2 separate regions of the Homo sapiens genome follow, and region 1 is linked to region 2. The links are contacts of gene promoters, found by promoter capture Hi-C in blood cells and fetal thymus (Javierre and others, 2016). All regions are on one chromosome and are shown on one strand. Each heading gives the region's core, a stretch centred on a gene start or on the middle of the fragment in contact. The rest is flanking DNA. Distances are from core to core; before and after follow the strand shown. Region 1 overlaps TMEM106B (transmembrane protein 106B). Region 2 holds the start of PHF14 (PHD finger protein 14).

Region 1 (2,744 bases), core at 211-2,710, 1.2 Mb after region 2:
TTACAGGAAGAGATAGTGTCACCTGCCCTACTTGTCAGGGAACAGGAAGAATTCCTAGGGGTATGTGTTATTGTATTGTTTTCCCTTTAAATGATTTTAGGTATTTGCTCAAGTATTATAAAAACTGTGGGTCTCAGGAACCACCTGTTTTAGAGGACTCTTAGAATTAAAGTTGAAACATCATATCAGTTACCTTCAGTCAAAAAGATGCAAAAGAAACAAATAAAGTATTAATTAAGGTTCCTAAAGCAGTAAAGAAAACCACCTCACTACCTCCAGTATTTTTTCATTCCCACCTGCTATTATAGCAGATATTCACTGTCTTGTAAATGAAAACTTTTAGTCCTATTTGGCATCTGTAGAGATGACATCATAGTTACTTGCTACTTTGCTATATCAGATGTTAGAAGCAATTTAAGTAATTTGTTGACCTATTTTTTTTTTTTTTTTAAGAGATGAGATCTCGCAATTGTTGGCCAGGCTGGTCTTGAACTCCTGTCCTCAAGCAATCCTCCCACCTCGGCTTCCCAGAGTGCTAGGATTATAGCAGTAAGCCACCATGCCCAGCCAGAGTTAATGTGTAAGGAAGCTTATTCTTTCATGTTATTTTTAAAATTTTATTTTTTTAATAATAAGGATGGAGTTTCCCCATGTTTCCCAGGATGATGTCGAATTCTTGGGCTCAAGCGATCATCCAGCCTTGGCCTCCCAAAGTGTTAGAATTACAGCTGTGAGCCACCACGCCTGGCCAACCTAATATTTTTAATTCATTATCTAAAGAAGAAGAATAAGCTGGCTGTGCCCTAATGAGTTAAAGAAACTCTGTGAAGAGGGATGGTACGTGAAAATGAGCCAAATTGAAAAAAAAAAATTGTTTGTGATATATCATAGGGGACGTCAGAAGGAAATAATCCCCTGTGTGCTGCTTGTAAGCTACTTTAGGAACAGTGGCAATAAGTAGAAATAATAAAGATACTTTATGCTGTTCTCATTATCTTCTTGGTGAAAGTTGATGTGTGACCCTGGAGATACCCAGAGGGAAGAAGGTCAAAGTATAAAGTATACTTTGTGTACCTTTTTAAGATGCTTAAAATGTATCTTAAAATGCTGTGGGTTTGAATTGAAGTTTACATTTGCGTTGGCCTTTGAGTATGATGGTTTTATTTTCACAAGGATAGTAGCTATTTAAGAATAAAATAATTATTGTAGTTGAAGGGATTAATGCACCAGGCTCAGGGGGTAGGGGAGTACTGTTTTAGCAGTCTGGTTACATTTTTGAGGTATGACCAGTAAACTTTTTTGGCCGCCTGGATACAGATTATGGAAAGTAGGAAATCAAGGATGACTCCAGAGTTTTTTTGGGGGGGTTTGTTTGAGCAACTGAAAGAATGTAGTAGCAATTTATTAAAATTGAAAAAAAAAAGATTATTTGAGTGTATATGTCACAGGAGAGTTCAGGAGCTCAAGTTTAGACATGGATATTTGGAGATGCCTATTTGACGTGGAAGTGGATATGTTCATTAGGCAGTTAGTTATCATAAGGGTCAGGAATTCAATTGCAGCGCCCAGCCTCAAGTTACCAATGTATAGATGACACTTAAAGCTCAGCTGGATGACAGCAGCAAGCTAGTCAGTGCAGATGGCAAAAATGAGACCCTAGCGAATCCTGAGACACTGTAGCATATCAAGGTCAGTGAAAGAATTAACAAAGGACCCTGAGAAAGAAAAGTTAGAATGAGAGGAGGAAATCATTGTGTGTGGTATCATGGAAGATAAGTGAAGAAAGTGTACCAAGGAGGAAAGAGTGACCAACTGTCATATGCTACTGATAGATTGGGTAGTGTGAAGACTGAGAACTGGCCATTGGATTTGGTTATATGGAGGCCACAGAAGAGTTTAAAAGAGCGGTTTTGGTAAAGACGTGTAGCATGTATAGAGTGGGCTCAAGAGTGCATAGGAGATGTTACATAGAGAGAAAATAGATTTTCTGAGGGGTTTGGCTCCATAGCAGAGAGAAGAGAGGTAGTCATTAGAAGGGGCTGTGAGGTCAGGAGAGGGATTTTTTTTTTTCTTTGTAAGATAGAGTGAATAATAGACAGTTGTATACTGATGAGAATTATCTGTAGAGAAAACATTGGTAATTCGGGAGATAAGAGAATTATTGGAGCAATGTTCTTGAATAGACAGAAGGGCAGATCTACTGCACAAGAACAAAGAGCTGCTCTTTTTTTCTATAAAAGGTAAGTTATAAGCACAGGTGGTTTATTCTTGGTAATAAAAGAGAAGGTAAAGTATGGACACAGAAGCAGGTAGGTGGATAGATCTGATAATAGAAGCTTGTAGAAATTATCTTCCATTTATCACATAATGAACTAAGAATGAGGATAGCGAAGAAGATATTAAAGATTTGAAGAGAGTTGAAGTTATAAAATTGTGGTCTTGGAGAGTCAGCTTGAGAGTATGAACTTGGGAAATGTAGTATGATTGTTGACATCATTAAGTGCTACTTGACATGAGTGATCAAAAATGAAACCAGTGAGTGTAGTTGTGTGTTTTTCTGTGTCCATGTTTAGCTCTGTTGATATATGCATAGGAGCCAGAGGGTTGGTTTTAACCAGGGTTGTAGTTTTAGCCAGATGAATACCACTAAACAAGGTGAGATATGTAAACACACAAAGATACAGATATCCATGTTATATGTATTTGTATAATTATATATGGGTGTGATGGGGGAGCACAGATGA
Region 2 (2,825 bases), core at 149-2,648:
GGTGTTTAAAGTAGAATGGAAGTGAAATTCCCAGAGTGGAGTTTTTAAAATAACCAAGTTCCTAGGATTTTAACTGGAAGAATAAATATCTGAAAGGCAATGAGGAGTATTAAGCATGGGATGCCACTTCTGCACCTTGAGAAAATGAAGTATGGAAGGATGAGTGGTTTTCATTTGAGAGGGCTGCAGGGTAACTGTTTCTATTTCAGATGAGGAGGTAAAAAGAATGGGCATTGAAAAGGAAAAATGTTTACTAAGTAGGTTATACATTTTGGAATAGAAGTTTCTATAGCACAATAGAAAAGTTTGAGAGGTCACATGGCAATGATAGTTTGGGTGAGAGTGAGGCAGGAGAATAGGGTGTGGAGGCAGGGAACCTAAGGATGTGTCACTCCGACTTCCTAAGAACTAAATTGAAAGGAAACCCCTAACTTTCCATGCCTAAGTAACAAAAGGACCAGAGGCTACTCCCTTTGCAAACCCCCACTTTTTCTGCAGGGCAGATGGGAAATTGGCTGTGGGCAGCAAATCAGACTGATTGCAGGAGAGTCTTCCTTTGCATAGAAGTATCACTTTGTAACTTCACCATCTGCAAGAAATCAAACTGATTGCAGGGGAAATCTTCCTTTGCATAGAGGTATACCACTTTGTAACTTCACCCTAGCCTCTGATTGATTGCTTTTTGCACCAATGTTTGCACAGGAGCATGACCTTTGTAACTTCACTTCAGCCTCTGGTTGGCTGCTTTCTGCAACCAATCAGACTGATTGCGCGTTACTTCATTTACATGAGGTGAGCATTAGGTGGCCAATAGGAAGCTTCTAGAGGGTATTTGGACTCAAGATTCTGTATCCGGGCCCTTGAGCCGCTGCTCAGGTCGCTTCCGTACAGAGCGTGCTTTAATTTTCAATAAGTCCCTGCTTTTGTTGTTTTGTTGCTTCATTCTTTCTTTGCTTTGCTGGGCGTTTTGTCCAATTCTTTGTTAAAAACGCCAAGAACCTGGACAACTTGCAGTCACGATCCTCTACCGGTGACAATATCATTTAAATATTGGTAGTGGCTTAAGGTAGCAAACATCCCTTTGTGGAACGTTTACTCAGTAAATCCTTAAAAAACAGATCAGAAACAAAAACTGGCCTCCCAGGGATTTGGACTCAGGAGGTGAATTAGGCGCGGAGAGGGCGGAGCCTTTGGGGTTTATGGGCGGAATTGCACAGGGTTTGGCGGGGATCTCTGCTCCGCCTTGGCACTACTCGGCTCCGCTCGCCTCCGCGCGGCTCCCTGGGCTTTCACTCGGCTCTGTTCGGCTCCTGCTCGGGAAGGGTGCGCGGGGGCGAGTCCTGCGCATGCGCCCTCAATTCCTGCTGCTCTCAGGGCTGCGCTCAGCCTCGTGTTTTCACTTCCTTTTCAGAGCTGTATCCGGGTCGCTGCTTTCCCTATTGTCTGAGGCAGCCGCCCTCGCGCTGTGCAATTTCTGGTCTTTCGTTGCTTCTGGTCCAGGCTAATAAAGTTTTTCTTTCTTTAATTTTTTTTCTTCTAGTTTTAACGGGAGAAATTAACTCCCCGGGGCCGCCGGGTTGACTGCGCTGCCTGGGCCGGAGGTCTTCTCCGGCCAGGGAGCGCTGTGGGAAGGGGCTCGAGCGGCCAGGGCCAGGCGAGGCCGGGGGGGCGGGGGGTTAGGGGACCGCGGGGCTACTCTTGGGAGCGCCCCTGTCCGGCTGGCTGCGCGCCGGTTTTAAATAGCATCTTTCGGACTTGTCTTCGCGGCCCCAGTCCCCGACCTCGGCGCTGCCTGGGCTCCTGCAGCCTCTCCCTAAGTCTTCTCCAAACGACCACCTCACGGATTCCTTAGTAAGTGTATCCGAGGCCTCTGCGGCGAGAGGTCCATTTCAGCCATTCTAGAAGTCAGGGCCGGTGGGAGCAGGGCAGGGGTGGGAGAGTCCTGCGGGAAAGCAGGATTGGTGGACCCTCGCCCTCCATGGTCCGCGGGAATGAAGCCCGCTTGTTTTATTCCCTGATTTTTGCCGTTTTTATTGACTGTTACGATGTCTAAGTGGGGGATTACGAGGAAGGTGCAGAAACATCTCGAAAAGATGAGCAAGAGGGTCAGCTTCGATTTTAGCTGGTCTGAGTTGGCGTTGGCAGCATCAGGGCTGGAGCTGCCTTTGAAACTGCCCGTGGAGCTGTCCAGCCCTCCCCACCCTGCTTCTGCACCCCAACCTTCTCCTGACCCCTTTTGCTGAGAACTCAGTTAGACAAAAATTCCTTGTGCGAGGTCATCTTTATGTTCTCTTAGCACCACAACTCTCCCCTGTGTTTGGTGTGATTATGAATGACAATGTAATTTTTTTCTCTTCACAGTGGATCGCAGCTCCAAGAGGAGGCAGGTGAAGCCTTTGGCAGCTTCTCTGCTGGAAGCTCTTGATTATGATAGTTCAGATGACAGTGATTTTAAAGTTGGAGATGCCTCAGGTAAATATTTCCTTCTCTCTTCCCCTTTCCCAGCTTTCTGGAGTTAGGCTTATTTTTAGACTTTTTAAATCGGTTTTGATTAAAATGCCAATTTTAAGTGAAAGCACGTAAACTTCATTTATTTTGTCCATTTGATTTCCCATTTTGCCTTTAGATCCTGTCACTAGACCTATAATTGCTTCTGTTTTCCTCAGAGATAATTAGCAGTCAGGGGAAGGACTTTTTCCAAAGATGCAAAAGGATTTCTCTGTTTTACACCTTAAAATATATTTATGCTTATATTATAGAGGAAAAAACTGAAAGATATCCCGAAGTAGAAAAGTATCCTGAGAGGTGTGTGGACCATTAATAGT

The links. Contacts are between HindIII fragments. The CHiCAGO score rates a contact against its expected background, and 5 or more counts as called.
Region 1: a contact is called between a fragment that was not itself captured here and the fragment with the promoter of PHF14 in region 2, in 3 of 17 cell types (non-activated CD4 T cells, monocytes and activated CD4 T cells). The highest score is 8.1, in non-activated CD4 T cells.

Annotation. Positions count from the first base shown.
Region 1 is chr7:12,214,968-12,217,711 of GRCh38, forward strand. It overlaps TMEM106B (transmembrane protein 106B), which reads left to right. Exons shown (of 8, transcript NM_001134232.2): 2 at 1-60. Among named protein-coding and RNA genes, the nearest start is that of TMEM106B, 5.0 kb to the left of the region's middle. The HindIII fragment of the contact is 1,747 bases long and covers 588-2,334 here.
Region 2 is chr7:10,972,474-10,975,298 of GRCh38, forward strand. PHF14 (PHD finger protein 14) reads left to right here and starts at 1,399. Exons shown (of 18, transcript NM_001007157.2): 1 at 1,399-1,851; 2 at 2,362-2,472. The coding sequence starts at 1,851. RefSeq lists silencers at 594-643, 1,154-1,213, 2,194-2,243 and an enhancer at 1,169-1,463. The HindIII fragment of the contact is 4,357 bases long and covers 817-2,825 here.